4 separate regions of the Homo sapiens genome follow, and regions 1, 2 and 4 are each linked to region 3. The links are contacts of gene promoters, found by promoter capture Hi-C in blood cells and fetal thymus (Javierre and others, 2016). All regions are on one chromosome and are shown on one strand. The core of a region is centred on a gene start or on the middle of the fragment in contact, and the rest is flanking DNA. Distances in the headings are between cores, read along the strand shown.

The links. The method cuts DNA at HindIII sites, captures the fragments that hold promoters and counts their contacts. A CHiCAGO score of 5 or more calls a contact.
Region 1: a fragment that was not itself captured here is called in contact with the fragment with the promoter of GLMN in region 3 in 1 of 17 cell types (endothelial precursors); the score reaches 5.6 in endothelial precursors.
Region 2: a contact is called between a fragment that was not itself captured here and the fragment with the promoter of GLMN in region 3, in 7 of 17 cell types (megakaryocytes, activated CD4 T cells, non-activated CD4 T cells and 4 more). The highest score is 11.1, in megakaryocytes.
Region 4: a fragment that was not itself captured here is called in contact with the fragment with the promoter of GLMN in region 3 in 1 of 17 cell types (activated CD4 T cells); the score reaches 5.0 in activated CD4 T cells.

Annotation. Positions count from the first base shown.
Region 1 is chr1:91,521,909-91,525,591 of GRCh38, forward strand. It overlaps CDC7 (cell division cycle 7), which reads left to right. Exons shown (of 12, transcript NM_003503.4): 12 at 2,133-3,683. The coding sequence ends at 2,527. All of the region lies in intron 4 of LOC102723436 (a long non-coding RNA gene), which reads right to left. Among named protein-coding and RNA genes, the nearest start is that of CDC7, 23 kb to the left of the region's middle. RefSeq lists an enhancer at 1,752-1,821. The HindIII fragment of the contact is 444 bases long and covers 1,846-2,289 here.
Region 2 is chr1:91,501,682-91,505,772 of GRCh38, forward strand. It overlaps CDC7 (cell division cycle 7), which reads left to right. Exons shown (of 12, transcript NM_003503.4): 2 at 1-150. The coding sequence starts at 36. Among named protein-coding and RNA genes, the nearest start is that of CDC7, 2.9 kb to the left of the region's middle. RefSeq lists an enhancer at 1-11. The HindIII fragment of the contact is 1,953 bases long and covers 469-2,421 here.
Region 3 is chr1:92,297,356-92,301,520 of GRCh38, forward strand. It overlaps GLMN (glomulin, FKBP associated protein), which reads right to left and starts at 1,632. Exons shown (of 19, transcript NM_053274.3): 1 at 1,570-1,632; 2 at 606-674; 3 at 49-174. The coding sequence starts at 644. RPAP2 (RNA polymerase II associated protein 2) reads left to right here and starts at 1,704. Exons shown (of 13, transcript NM_024813.3): 1 at 1,704-1,791; 2 at 2,839-2,884; 3 at 4,121-4,165. The coding sequence starts at 1,719. RefSeq lists enhancers at 730-1,626, 1,198-1,667, 1,888-2,117 and a silencer at 1,129-1,466. The HindIII fragment of the contact is 769 bases long and covers 1,156-1,924 here.
Region 4 is chr1:91,552,196-91,556,151 of GRCh38, forward strand. All of the region lies in intron 3 of LOC102723436 (a long non-coding RNA gene), which reads right to left. Among named protein-coding and RNA genes, the nearest start is that of CDC7, 53 kb to the left of the region's middle. RefSeq lists an enhancer at 3,781-3,940. The HindIII fragment of the contact is 1,976 bases long and covers 695-2,670 here.

The DNA.
Region 1 (3,683 bases), core at 818-3,317, 780 kb before region 3:
GTAATCCCAGCACTTTGAGAGGCTTAGGTGGGCAGATCATGAGGTCAGGAGACCGAGACCATCCTGGCCAACGTGGTGAAACCCCATCTCTATTAAAAACACAAAAATTAGTTGGGCATGGTAGCATGCACTTGTAGTCCCAGCTACTCGGGAGGCTGAGGCAGGAGAACCAGCTGAACCTGGGAGATGGAGGTTGCAGTGAGCCAAGATTGCACCACTGCACTCCAGCCTGACGACAGAGCAAGACTCTGTCTCAAAAAAACAAATAATAAAAATAATGCCATAGGACTTGTCTCAGTTGTATTAGTATGACATCTGTAGTTATTTTAGTCTTGATCTTACTATAACTTTGGACTGAGTATAAAAGCCTCAAAATTTCAACAAACACAACTGTGTTCCCCTTTGTAACCTAAAGAAATGACTTGGCTGAGATTAGCAGTGAGAGCACCTTTACTTCTCTTATCTGTCCTCAACCCTTAAACCTGGCTCCATTGTGGGTTGTCATTAAGTACTCAGTGAATTGTGTTGAATAAATTAAAAAGAAAAGTCTTGAGCTGAAACAAATTCCTGACACATAGTAGTCTGTAATAAAATATGTTGACTGATAGTGTTACTTGAAGTTATTTTTCCTGAATATTGTAAATGAACCCTCTTTTTGGTCATATAAAAAAAAGCATATTGTATAACTTGGGGACATGCTATAACATATACTATTAGTTATTTTATGACTTCAGAACAAGCTAATAAAGGAATAAAACTATATGAATATTCCCCCCTGGCTATAATTTTCTAGAGAGAATAGGAATGATAGAATCAGTTTAAAAGTAAAAAAGCATTGGCATATTGTACTCTCAAAGAATTTGGTCTTCAGTAATTGTTTGTTTCCTCCCTTTCCCTCCCCCATTTTTTTCCCTGGCTTAGTACACCAGTCCAGTAGTTAGTTCAGAATATGTAAAGGTAACTTTTTATCATCCACAGTCAGATTAATGACTTTGTTGACAATCTACATTCTCAGAAAGGCATCTAAATGTTGTGGTACTTGTTGTTTCGTACATTTAGTATATTTCTGTTTAATAAGGAAATGTAAGGCAAAAATAATACATGATTGCCATTTGTGTGATTAACTTTTTTTTGCACATCTGATAATAAACCCATCAGGAAGTTATTTCAAATACATTTATATTTTTAAAAACAGATCTAGTTTGTTTATTTGTTCATTCAGAAACATTTATTGGGGCTTTATGTGTGCCAAGTACTATTGCGAGTCTCTGCTTTCACAGAGCTTAAATTCTAGTGAGGGAGAGAACATAAATAAATACTATGAGAAATGAGTGGTACTGAGATAAAAGGAAAAGGGGAGGGAAGAGGCTTATTTAGGATAGGTTGGTCAAGAACAGCATCTCTAAGGATGTATGTGTCATTTGAACAGTTGTTGAAAAGAATAATGCCTTTTTGTCTAGTCCAACAGACATTAACTGACTACCTAATCTGTACCAGGCATAGGCTGGGTTTGGGGGGTTCAAAGATAAATAAGACAGTTCCTGCCTTCAAAGAGCTCAGTCTACTAGGTGGGACAGACATATATAGGATAGCAAAAGTAATAGTAGAACTCTCAAGATACAGTAGAAACTGAAATTGATCAGTTCTCTCTGAGGGTGTCAAGCCTCAGAGGTGATTCTTGATCTGAGTGGTGATGTCAGTGAGAGTGTCCTGGGCACACAAGGGGTGCAGGGCATCCTAGGCAAAGACAGGAGTCATGTAGTCAAAGACATAGAAGCATGGAAAGGAAGTAGAGTGGGGGCGTGGGAGCTGCAGCTAGTTAAAGATTATAGAAGGGTAAGATGAAGCTTGAGAAATTGGCAGAGTCAAGTGAGTGCCTGGCATAGCTTAGTAAGTCACTGCTTTGTACTTACTATCTCCCACTTTATCTCCCACTATGCAATTCAAATACAACTTAAATATAGCATGTGGTGCTCTATCTCATACTGTGTGTGTGTGTGTGTGTGTGTGTGTGTGTCCATGTCTATAAAGCATATGTTTGAACTTTCATGTTTCTCATGAGAGAGGCTTCTGATATATTCAAATAATAAAATGTTTTTTTCTGTTTTTGTTTTTTCTTCTTTTGCTTTTAGGGAAATCAATATTATGTAGCAAAGAAGTTCCAGCACAAGACTTGAGAAAACTCTGTGAGAGACTCAGGGGTATGGATTCTAGCACTCCCAAGTTAACAAGTGATATACAAGGGCATGCTTCTCATCAACCAGCTATTTCAGAGAAGACTGACCATAAAGCTTCTTGCCTCGTTCAAACACCTCCAGGACAATACTCAGGGAATTCATTTAAAAAGGGGGATAGTAATAGCTGTGAGCATTGTTTTGATGAGTATAATACCAATTTAGAAGGCTGGAATGAGGTACCTGATGAAGCTTATGACCTGCTTGATAAACTTCTAGATCTAAATCCAGCTTCAAGAATAACAGCAGAAGAAGCTTTGTTGCATCCATTTTTTAAAGATATGAGCTTGTGATAATGGATCTTCATTTAATGTTTACTGTTATGAGGTAGAATAAAAAAGAATACTTTGTAATAGCCACAAGTTCTTGTTTAGAGACCAGAGCAGGATTAATAATTTATTTTAACATTTTAGTGTTTGGTGGCACATTCTAAAATATAGATTAAGAATACTTAAAATGCCTGGGATAGTTCTTGGGACTAACAACATGATCTTCTTTGAGTTAAACCTACCTAAGTAGATTTTAGGTGGGTTCCTATTAGGTCAGATTTTTAGCTTCCCTAATTACCTTTCACTGACATATACAGAAAAAGGAGCAGTTTTAGTTTTAATTAATTAAAATTAACAGATGTGATGAGGATTAAATGAATCAAAAGACTTAATTTGTAGATTCTTTTAGAGTTATGAGCTAGGTATAGTTTGGGGAAACTCAACCTGGTGCTGGTGCTCTTAACAATTTTGTAAATAAAGAAGATAATTTCCTTTTCTAGAGGTACATATTAGGCCTTTTATGAACACTAAAACAATGAGGAAATGTTGGTCATGGGGCAAAGTATCACTTAAAATTGAATTCATCCATTTTTAAAAAACACTTCATGAAAGCATTCTGGTGTGAATTGCCATTTTTTTCTTACTGGCTTCTCAATTTTCTTCCTTCTCTGCCCCTACCTAAAACATTCTCCTCGGAAATTACATGGTGCTGACCACAAAGTTTCTGGATGTTTTATTAAATATTGTACGTGTTTACAGTTGGGAATTTAAAATAATACATACACTGGTTGATAAAGGGAAGCTGCAGGACCAAGGTGAAGATTGATAGTCCAAATGCTTTTCTTTTTTGAGTTGTATATTTTTTCACACCATCTTAGATATAATTAGGTAGCTGCTGAAAGGAAAAGTGAATACAGAATTGACGGTATTATTGGAGATTTTTCCTCTGCGTAGAGCCATCCAGATCTCTGTATCCTGTTTTGACTAAGTCTTAGGTGGGTTGGGAAGACAGATAATGAAGTAGGCAAAGAGAAAAGGACCCAAGATAGAGGTTTATATTCAGAAATGGTATATATCAATGACAGCATATCAAACTTCCTATGGGAAAAAGTCTGGTGGGTGGTCAGCTGACAGATTTCCCATTTAGTAGTCATAGAATACAGAAATAGTTTAGGGACAT
Region 2 (4,091 bases), core at 195-2,694, 800 kb before region 3:
CCTTAGCTGGCATTTTGCATCTCAATTGGCTTGTGATGGAGGCGTCTTTGGGGATTCAGATGGATGAGCCAATGGCTTTTTCTCCCCAGCGTGACCGGTTTCAGGCTGAAGGCTCTTTAAAAAAAAACGAGCAGAATTTTAAACTTGCAGGTACGTGTTTAAATCCAAAGATGTACAGTTATAAAGATTTTTCAGGCAACAATTCTGTGTTTTCAATTCCTCTCAAAAAATAAGATTGAATCTTATAAAGTGAATTGTATGTTTCTATAGGACAGTGTTAAAACAGAGCTTCGTATGATCTAAATGTAGGACTGAATTGCGATTTGGAAGACTGTAATACAACCTGTTTTACGGTTGAAGTTGCTATGGTCTCAGTATTGGTAATTAAGAATGCAGAAATTTGATGATGCCCAAATTAAATTTCTCTTTTGTATCTGTGTTCTTATCTCTACTCACCACATTGCCTTAAGCTTAAATGTAGAAATTGACACTGGAGATCATCACTTAAGTATTCAAAAGCAGAACTCACAGACAAAAAAATATGAAATGTTTGTAGCAATAATAAAGCACCATATCTCAGTGTACAGCATGAAATGTTCTTTGACCGTAAACCAGACCTTAGGGTGAATAAGACAGGGTCAAGCAGTGCCTGCTCTTGTACACTCGCATGTGTACCTTCATTTCTGCTCTGGCACAGGACCTGGGACATAGTAGGTATTTGTTAATAATAAATATTTGTTAAATAGAGGAATTCTAGTTGACTGTATTTTTTTTTTTCTGAAAGGGTAGCCAGATCATCTTTCCCATCTTTGTCTTAAGTGAATTCTGTGCTTGTCTAAAAGATACTTATTTTGACCTTTTGTCCATATATTCTTTATAACCCCACCCTAGAAAAATATGACATCACATACTTTCTGCTTTGATGGAAGTCAGTTATCCCACTTACCTAAACTTGAAACTTTAATCTTCAGCTGATGCTTTTTATTTGTTCCCCATATCGTCACCTAGCTTTATTTCTTTTTAGTAAGTATGGCATTGTGTCTTCTTTCCATTCCCATTTCCACCACATTAATTAATTTCCTTACACTTTGTTCCTGATTTACAACAGTTTCTCACCTATGCTGCCTGCTTGCACTTTTCCATTCTTCAGTTCATCTTGTATGTTGGTGCTAGAATAATCTTAAAATGCCACTTTCATCCAGTTTCATGGATACTGTTCCTCTTCCTTTCCATTTTTCCAGCAGTTAGCTGTTTTTTTAGTTCATCTTTCCCTTACTAGTCACTGGACACATAACACAGTAACACAGTCATTGTAGTATTCTTTTTCTATTGCTTAGGACTCTGCATTTTGTCTCCACTGTAAACCCCTTGGCGGCAGTATCTCCTCTGGTTTCTAAAGTATGTTGTGACTTCAGCAGAGTATCTGAATGGATGACTCTGAATTGGTTCTAGCATCATGTTTAGGAGAATGCCACTATTCTAATATTCTGAAAATCTGCTGGGAAGTAATGAATGGGGTGAATTTTATTACGGATTTCAAAAGTTTTGTAGCGTTTATGTAACAGAACATTGGACATTATAATATGATAAATTATAAAACGTGCTAAAACTTTACTCTTATGGTTCTTTTTTAAATATGATCTTAATAACAGCTAAAGTTATATAAACATAACTTCAATAGGGAGCAAAGCTGATGAGGTCCAGGCACATAACAGTCTAGTAATCTAATTGGGAAAGTAAATCAAATTAGATCATGAGACAGGTATATGCCTGCACCTCATCAACTTTACTCCTTATTGAAGTTATATTTTTGATTGGATGTTTTATATATCTTAGCATTCCCAGAGCTTAACAGTGTCCAGCACATAGTAGGTGCTTGAAAATATTTGAATGAATGATTTAATGTAAGGATATAAAGTAAAATACTTAGTGTAATGGATGAATAGCATGTCTCTTTATTTTGAGATATTTGTCAGATTTTTATAACATTTTTCTGATAAACATGATTATTGAAATTTTTGAAGTAAAGAAAGCCAAAATAAAGTCTTTTCCCATTATTGAAATATTGCCACTGTTGACATTTTGTTATATTCCTTTAGCCTTTCTAGGCATACATAGGTACATTTTTTAGAAACTAAATTGGGATCTTGTTTTGTTTTTGTTTTTGAAAAGAGAACCAGAATATGGGATCTTATTTCTGATCTCCATTTTTTTTAATATATATCTTGAATATTGCTCATGTAGTAAATATTCTACAACTGGATTTAAGGTCCATTGCATATTATATTATAATATATTCAATCACCTTTTACTATTGACCCTATAGATTGTTTCTATTTTTTCCTATTAAGAAAAATGCTGTAATGCACAAACTATCTGGCATAATATTGGTCAAATGTTTATTCTTTCACTGTTTTGGCAAGCTTTTTTTTTTTTTTTTGAGACATGGTCTCTCTGTCACACCACTGTCACTGGAGTGCAGTGGTGCAATTACAGCTCACTGCAGCCTTAACTCCTGCACTCAAGCAATCCTACCCCCTCAGCCTCCTGAGTAGCTTGGATTACAGGCATGTGCCGCTACACTCAGCTAATTTTAAATATTTTTTTTAGAAACAGGATCTTGCTATGTTGCCCAGGCTGGTCTCAAACTCCTGGCCTCAAGTGATCCCCTCCTATCTTGGCCTCCCAATGCACTGGGATTACAGGTGTGAGCCACCATGCCTGGCCAGTAAGCTTTTATTTTTTTTTAAGTATCTACTATATGCCAAGTTTTAATAAGTGAGAAAGATCTGTTCAGTGAAAGAATGATGTATAAACTCTATATTGAAAGTCTCCTCCATACTGGTGAACTCTACTGGAAGGAAGGCTTGCTTCATTCTGTTTGCTACAATGACACCCTTAGCCATGCTTCTAAAATGGGCTATGGGTACCATCTTTGTTTGCCTGGGACAGATCTAGCTTACGGCTATTGTCACAATGTAATTATTATTCCTGCTGCCTTTTCACTCAAGAGTGTCCCAGTTTGGGCTTATATTATGTATTATCCCCTAGTTCCAGGAGGTATAAACCAGAGAGTACATGAAGCCCCAGAATAACCATGACTATATGCCTAGAGTGTCAGTTTTAATCCATGACAAGATATTGAAAACGTTTCATTTATGTGATGAATATTTATTGTCTGTTATATACATGTACTTTTTTAGGTGCTAGGGATAAATCAAACCATAAAACAGAAATTAACACTGTGGTAGTTAGACAATAGACAGAGAGTAAACAAAAGAAGTAAATACTGTGCTCAAAAGTGATTAATGTTACTAAGAAAATGTAAAAGGGAAGGGGAGATAGGAAGTATTGGGGAAGGAGATTGTAATTTTAGTGAGTATGGTTGCTCATAGCCTTCTGTAACATTTGAGCTAAGACTTCAAGGTGGTGAAGGAGTGACCTGTGCAGATATTTGGGGAAGAGCATTCCAAACAGAGGAAACGGCAAGTACAAAGACCCTGAAACGGCAAGTACAAAGACCCTGAGATGGGAGTGTGCCTAGCATTCAAGAATAGCAAGGAGGTCATTGTGGCTAGAATGGGGAAGGTAATTGGAATGAAGTCAAAGAGAGATGTAAAGAGGCTTTCTAATGGAGTGAGATGTGAAACCATTAGAGGTTTTGAGCACAATAGTGACAAGGTGACTTAGCTTTATCAGAATACTCTGTTTAAACTCTGTTTGCTATGTTGCAAGCCGACTGGCTACTATGTTACAGATAGACTCCAGGCTGGCAAGGAGTGTAGTTAAGGAGACTATTGGTATATTAAAACCAACTTGGATATATTATGCAGCAGAAAACAAAAGTGACTTAAAATGTCAAAATAGAAGCCTAGACCTTCATGTATAAAATAGAGGCATTTAAATAATTTTTAGCATATTATAGATTTTCGGGATCCTCCTCCAGTCCTCAAAGTCTGTTTCATTTGTCTGTCTTTAGTACTGTTTTCCAGCTTTTGACATGAATGCACTTTTCTGCTTTCTGCTGTCATTTCCCACTTCAGAATTTGAGGATATTGCATTCACTTTGGTTGCCAGGAAGTTTTACTGTT
Region 3 (4,165 bases), core at 382-2,881:
ATTATTCTCTTCCCAAGACTGAAAAGTAAACACCAAGATTGTACGCACCTTATTCTTTTCATTTTGAATAATTTCTAATAGCTGGTCTGTGTGCCCTTCTTCTATGCATCTTTGCCCAGCTAACTGAAATAGGCCAAAATCCTCTTCTTTAAAGTCTTGCTCTTCTAGGATTTGCTGGCAAAAAAAAAAAAAACCCAAAAAACAAACAAAAAAAAGTATATGCAAATAAAAATTAAATACAATAACTTCTTGATTTATCTATGAAAAAAGGAAATCTGTTTAAATTCTAGATAAATGTAACGTAAATAACACACGTATCAAAATTAGGATTACCCTAATAAATACTTTAATAAGTGACCTTGAAATCTACTGTACCAGTGAAATCTATGAAAAGGATCAGGATTAAAATGTAAAAGGTTATTTAGATAAGTATGTCACCTGGAGAAATAATCCAATCTGCCTCCCCCACTCATGCTCTTTACAGGTCAAAAAAAGCAAGGATTAAAGAAGATAAACAATTTGAGTGACCACAAATATAATTAAAAACAATCTGTGCCCTTCCCATATTTTGAAAGGTATTTAATTTTACAAAAATTAATACTTACACATCTCTTTATTATAGACTGAAGTTCCTCTACAGCCATTCTTATTTCTCCTAGTTTCGATGCTAAAATCTACAAATACAAAACACACTGTTAACTATCCGTGATATTACACTTAAGTATTCAAAAGTTATGTTTCAGTGTGATAAATTATTAGTAAATACAATAAAGAAAATGGAAAGTTTTTGTTGTTGTGTTTTTTGGTCCAATAGCATGCTAGGAGAAAATGTAAAGTTTTAAAGTTGAAATGTTATTACTGAATCTTAGTATGTTTGCCTAAGAAAATAAAGTGTTTTTTTAGAAGCCCTTATTGCATGTTTTAAGTTTTCTAGGAGCATAGTTTTGAAAGCTACTTTGAAGGAAAAAAAAACAAAAAAAACCTCTCGAGCACTCCCAAGAGGCGAGGCATATACGAACTAAAGGGCTTTTAAAAAGCAAAGCACTTCTTTTCTGAAAAAAAATTTCCAAAAGGTGGACCTGAAATCAAAATTCTAATCATCAGGGGATTTTTCATTTTTAATGTCTCACCTCACAAAAATTGGGGTGCAACACAAGCTTATCTATAGGGGGTGAAGATTCAGATGCCCTCCATTCCATTTCTCTCTAGGAGTTGCAGTCCCCAAAGTGATCAATCCAGCTAGTGAAATCACTGTATCACACGGAGACAAGACAACGGCGGCCTTCAGGAGGAGACCATCGCTTCTCCTGGCGGCAAGGCTCGGCCCCAAGCCCTCAGTAGGGGCGCGAGTCAGCCCGGTCCTCAGGGCAGCGCGCTGGAAGGCGAGTGAACACCCCAGCGCGCGTGCGGGCTGCATCAGAGGAAGCCATGTCTTCCGATTCCTGCTCGCCTAGGTGGGCAGGCTCCACCACCTCGCGTGGCCTAGTCGGCCCGCAGCACCAAGTCCGCCGCGGCTCACGGCCAACCGCGAGCCCTGGCCACCCTGAACCTCTCCACAACTCCACTTACCGGCCAGAACCCTCGCCTCTCCCAGCCGCCGCCACCTCCTCCGGCGTCTTAGCCCGCTCTTCTGGCCCCGCCCCGCGCTACGCGTAGGGAGGCGGGGCCTCGGGGCGAGACGCCGGAGCGTGTCCCCGTCCGGCAGACTACTCTCCCCCATGGCGGACTTCGCTGGGCCGTCTTCTGCCGGCCGCAAGGCCGGGGCTCCCCGCTGCTCTCGAAAAGCCGCAGGTAGGAGCAAGGATCTCTTCCCACTTTTGGACCCTGAAAGCTGGGCCCCGATCTCGAGTTATAGACCGCAGCGCGCGGGCGCTCCTGAAAGGCTGCTTCAGGGGAGGGGTTCTCCCAGGTAGAGTAGGCCGAAAGCTTCCCACCGCCGTCCGCACCTCCTGGGAAAGATTTCCTGGCCGCCCCTCACCCCTTTACGCCAGTGTTCCAAGATTTCCCTCACGCGGACTGTGGCCCCAGCCTCTGAGACAAAGGACAGTGGAGGCCCCGGGAACCCAGGCCTGGGGTCCCCGGGTTTCGGGGCAAGTGACTAGGGCAGCGTTGGCAGCTGGCCTTGAACCTAGGACCGGTCCTCCTTTCCAGATTGCTTGGGTGCCCAGTTCTTTAAGGTGCCGGACTCCCCTCTTCCCCCAGAGAGGACGTTTGGCAGACGGAGAGAGGTTTCCCCTAAAAGTACCCAGATCTCAGATTTTCAGGAGTGGTTAATTAAGCAACTATGATACAGAAGAAAATTCAATCCCCAAAGAGATACATTTTAACCAAGAAAAATTAGACAGTAATCAATTTGCAAAAACAAATTGCTCTCCCTTCCTATTTCATTTTGATTTACACACGATTGGACATAAAATATGTGGAAAAGAAGAAAAGGTGGTCTACAGTTTGTTATTTGTGTAGGAATCTATCTTGTACCTAATGTGTTTGTGTAGACCTGACCTACTGCCACCATGTGTAGCTTAACTGCGGGGATGCATTTTGAGAAATAAGTTGTTAGTCGATTTCATCCTTGTGTGACCATCATCGAGTGCACTTACACAAACCTAGATGGTACAGCCTACTTACACACTAGGCTATATGGTACAGCCTATTGCTCCCAGGCTACAAACCTGCACAGCATGTTACTGTACTAAGTACTGTAGGCAACTGTATATCTAAACATAGAAAAGGTACAGTAAAAATACAGTATTTTAATCTTATGAGACCGCTGTCTGTATGCTGTCCGTCGTTTACGGAAATGTCATTATGTAGCACATGACTGTATTTTTATTGTAGGTACTAAACAGACAAGTACTTTGAAACAAGAAGATGCTTCTAAAAGGTATGACAGCTACATGGACAACTACATTGGCATATCTACTTATCTTGTATTACTTGTACCAATTTTAAAACAATAATGGTTACCTTTTTTTTTTTAGAGAAAATTATCATGAGAGGGAAGGGAAAGATCTGGGAAGGCCTATAAATTCTCACATAGACTGTTACATTCCTCTACTCCAGGCTTTAAGAAAACCAAACTAAGCACTCAGACTGCTAGTGAAGGAATGAGTGTCTGTAGAAGGTGTTTGTTTTTCACCGCTTCAGGTACACTCTCCTTTTATTGCTTTATATGCCAGAGACTCACTCTCCAAGTTTCGCTGTCACTCCAAGAAACCTTTTCTGTTCTTTGTTACATCAAGTCCAGATTTTCATTAAAAAGCTGTCTTGTACTAGTTCTGGTTCTAAAAAGGCAAGATATTACCACATATCACACAGAGTTTCTAGAAGAGGAGTAGAATGTGAAGGGGATTAAAAGCATATGTAGCTATGATTTTTATTTTGTGAAGACTCACTAATCTTATATTGGCTTTGGTCTTAATTTACTCATTCTTTCAAAAATTATTTATTGAGTATAAGATATGTCGGACCTGTGTTAGGCTCTGAAGATATGGTGAACAGAATAGACACAGTTCTTGCCTAGTGGAACAGAGGAATAAATAATAATAAATTAATTAGTTAATTAACATAAACAAATACATAATTACAAATTGTGATAAGCACTATGAAGGAAAAGACTGTGATGTTACGAGAAGGAATAACGAAGTCTAATTTAGTTGGAGGTGGGTGGCAGGGAGGTTGGCTGTGAGTTTTCAGCGAAAGCCTTATGCTGAGACCTGCGTGCTAAGTAGACATTAACCATACAAAGAGTATATAAAGACTTATGTATGTGCAGTGCAAAAAGTAGCTTGTTTCCTTTTTGAAAAGTATTGGATCAAAAGTAACAGCATTAGAAAACAGAAATTTGGCCGGATGTGGTGGCTTATGCCGGTGATCCCAGCACTTTGGGAGGCTGAGGTGGGAGTGTTGCTTGAGGCCAGGAGCTCGAGACCAGTTTGAGCAACATAGTGAGACCTTGTCTCTACAATTAAAAAGAAATAAATATTTTTATTCAAAAAATTTTTTAAATATATTTAAATTTAAGTGGCAAAATAGTGAGTTAGGTTAGTATTGTATTTTAAAACATGGAATGTTGGACATGAAGCTTTTAAGTAGATTAAGTTTCTCTTTCAAATTTTAGGAAAGCTGAACTAGAAGCAGCTGTGAGAAAGAAGATTGAATTTGA
Region 4 (3,956 bases), core at 433-2,932, 750 kb before region 3:
GATGATCCATTTTTATGATTAGAAAGTGATTCCTTCAATGAACCTACTACTTCTTCCTACATTCTTGTTAGAACTTTCTCAGCTATGAATCAGACTTTTCCAGGAAACTTCTACAGTCTTTACTTTGGTGACTACAACCACAATACTCAGTTGTTCCCAAGCAGAAAACTGAGGTTCATTCAAGACTTCAGTATTTGATCAAGATATTTTGCTTGGTAAGCTGGCTATTTTTTGATATAGTTTTATTTTCCCCATCTAGCTGGAATAAGATCATCAAAGTTGGTCATCTTACCTGACATAGCCTAGATATTTTCTTCTTCAGTACTAAACTTAGATGTCCCCACCTTTACAGAGTACATATTAGAGTAAGCAAGGCTAGGTTATAGCAAATAAGCCCCATAGTCCTTCTGTGGCTCTCCTCTAAGCAGTGACTTAGAGATCCTTATTGTTTTCATCTTATATTGCTGCCATCTGGATTCAGAGGTTACAACAGAAGGGAAAGAAAGTGGGAACATGGACAGTTGCACAGTGAATTTTATGGCCAGGCCTGAGAGTAGCATACATCATTTCTGCTCTATCCTATTGGATATCCAGTCATGTGGCCCCAACCTAAGGACTCCTAAGGGTGTCTGGGAAGTGTAGTTTCCCATGTGCTTGGGAAGTGATAGATGGCATGAAATTTGGCGACCCCCAAAGCTTTATCTCTGCTATAGGAAGCCACCCTTCTCTGTTATTCTCCTCTTCAGTCTGGGTTAGGTGCCCCTCTTCGACTGTAGCACAGTCTGATATATAATAGGCACTAAATATGTTTGTTGGTTAGATGAAATGAAAGATGGATTAATTGTAACCTAAGATCTTACGTCTATTAAAAGAGTGAACTAGAATTAATCAGTATTGAATTGGTTAATTAACAGAAAATTCTCTATTCATTCAAGGTATGCCTAAGAATTATAGGAAGAAATTGAAACTACACTGTTAAAAAATAGACTAGATTGGGGATCCCTAGGAAATTCCTTTTATTATTTCAACACACAACCTTAGTAGCCAAAGTCACTCCAACTCTCCTCCCCTCTGAGTCACTCTGGCAATCACTCTGTAGTTATTTCAAAGATTGGGAAATTTTCTGAAGGCAACATGGCCTGTCGATGGCATTGACTTTGGCTCCCCTCACCATCACTCTCATTGTTGCCATTAGCCCGTTTTTAAGGCCCTGAAGTTGGCTGCCCTTGAAATAAAGTGGGAAAACCTGCATTTGTGGGCCAGCTTGGTCCCCAGCCCAGTTCCCCAGCCAAAGAAAGTGAACAATCCTGTATTTGTGGCATCCTGAGCCTGCAGTGACCTTCCGGGCCAGCCAGGATGCCAGAGGGAATGCACATTCTCTGAAATGACAGTAGAGGAAGAACCAACCCATTGCCCCGGGACTAATGAATGGGTCCCTCTTTTCCCCCTGGGACAGCCTTAACAGGGCCACATGTAGGGCTTAACTCTTTTGTATCTTGAGCTTTATACATAGAGGCTGATCTGTCTTGTTTCTTAGCTGGAAATTAATTGGGCTGAAAATAGATAATTAGTTTTCAATGTTAACTGCAGTTATTTATTTATTTGAGTGATTATTTGATTAACGTATTTCTTTACCTTAATACTAGAGAGCAAGGACTATGTCTGCTTTGTTTTTCATTTTATTCCCTAGTAGTTAGCATAGTGCATGGCAGAGAGTAAGTTGTAGGGAAATATTTATTTACATGCAGAATGACTGTGGCAAACCTTGTCTCAAAGCTCAAGCTCTTATTTTGTTTTGTTTTAGCATTGTTTCCCCCGAGAGTGATCATTTCTGCTTCTTGTTATAAGTATAAAATACATTATCAAGTGGCTTCTGCTGTGTGTTTTTGACTCAGTGAATCCCAGAACCATCAAGACAGAGGCTGGGGATCAGCCCCTTCACCAGCTTTCAACTTTGGGCTGGTGGTGAAACCTCATTTTCAATTGCTTATGTATACATGTATCCTGAGTGTAATCAACAGGACTGCTCCACAAACCCAGGGGGTAAATACTGTCACATTTAGCTTCTTTACACAAAACAAGTAGCCTAAGTTCCCATGGTTTATCAGACTGTGGGATTAGCAGAAAGTCTAGCCTCTCCGTCTTGGGGCCCTCTGTCTCCCCATAACTTTTCCAAAATCCCAGAGGTTTACATAATTCAAAAAGAAGGGTCAGCCTGACTTTCACACTCCAGGGGGGGAAATGTTGCTGATCATTGCCACATGGCTGTGGAAAGTGCCCACTTGAGCCTTCAGATGATGTTAGTTCAAGGCTTTGCACAGGCTATTCAAGGTCTATCTGAGTCTGTTTGTGCTACAGTAACAAAATGCCTGAGCCTGGGTAGTTTATTATCAACAGAAATTTCTTTCTCACAATTCTGGAGGCTGGGAGTCCAAGATCAAGGCACTGGCAGGTTCAGTGTCTGGTTCCAAGATGGCACCTTCTTGCTTTATTCTCTGAAGGGGAGGAACAGTGTGTTTTCCCATGGGAGAAGAGTGGAAGAGCAACATGGACCGAAACTAGTTCCTCACACTCTTTTACAAGGCACTAATCCATTCATGAGGGCGGAGCTCTCCTGACTTAATCACTTCCCAAAAGGCCCCACCACTCAGTACCATCACATGGAGATTAAGCTTCAACACATGAATTTTGTAGGGAACGCATTCAAACCACAGCAAGGTCTCTTCAGGAAAATGATCAACCTTGTGTTCAGCTTGGCCAAGATGGCCCCTTGCTTAAGTTCCCAGAACTGCAGAAAGTTAGTTCTTAGTACTAACTTTCAGTCCCTTATGTGACCTTTCTGCAAAGATCCAGTCATCCAGAGGGGTGGCATCAGATTGTATCAGGCCGTCCAGCCCTATAGACCCCAAACTTCTGTATACTCTTCATCCCCTGGGACTATTACATTGCAGGTCTGACAACTTTTCCTATTCCATCTTTGAAACATAAAAAGTTCTCATTATTTCTCACTTCCAACAAATAGGGCTACCCACCGACTTCTTCATACTGGTCACCCGGATGGTCTCTAGGGGGCTCTATTGCCGTCAGGAGGAGGGAACTACTTGCAGTGCTTTAGGACAGTCTGTATTCCCAGACTTTCTGACACCTTTTTTAGTAGAGAAGAGAAGCTGGAGGGGGAGATGGAGAAGGAAGAATGAGGAGAACACTATAATAGAAGCTAAATATCGGCAGATCATTCTACTACACAGCTCTTCACACTGACTGTATAGGCAAATTTCCTGTTTATCCTGAGCAGAAGGCAGCCTTCCTTCTCTAAATTGTACCTACTCAAAAATTTAGGCTACAAACTTACAATCAGGAAGAAAACTGAAAGCTCTTCCTGTTGAGTCATCCGGCTTTAAAGTGCTGGATCTTTGCTGGACATTGTAGTAAATTAATTGAAAGTTTTGTGCAAAATATTATTTCAGGGGATGGGGTAGGCTCCTCGGATGAAACAGCAGTGTGTTTGTGAGGTCAAATTTTTGCTTCTTAGAATAAGAGTCACTTTGATTTTGGTGGGGCAGGATCACCCGTGGGAGGATAACTCATCCACACATATCAGACATGAATCCTTCAGTGAGAGATGGGGAGTGGGAGCAGAGTGGTCAGGGTATCCCTGTGAGGCAAGGGAGGGATCCTGACCTCTGGTGCACCTGACCTCTGGGGGACTGGCTCTTGGGTCCAACTCAAGGTTCCTTTTCAGGGCCTGTGGCATGTCCTCCAGGCCATACTGCCATCTTTAAAATACTGCCGGCACCTAGTTGTTACTGTCAGCACCTGGCTGTGGTAGGGGAGGACAGACACCGATGATTCACGAGGCGTGATCCAGAGCATTGTAACCATTAGTAGTAGGTGTGAAGGGAAATCATCAAACCATGTGAAGGTGGGAAAAGTTGTCACAAGTTGCAAATCTATAA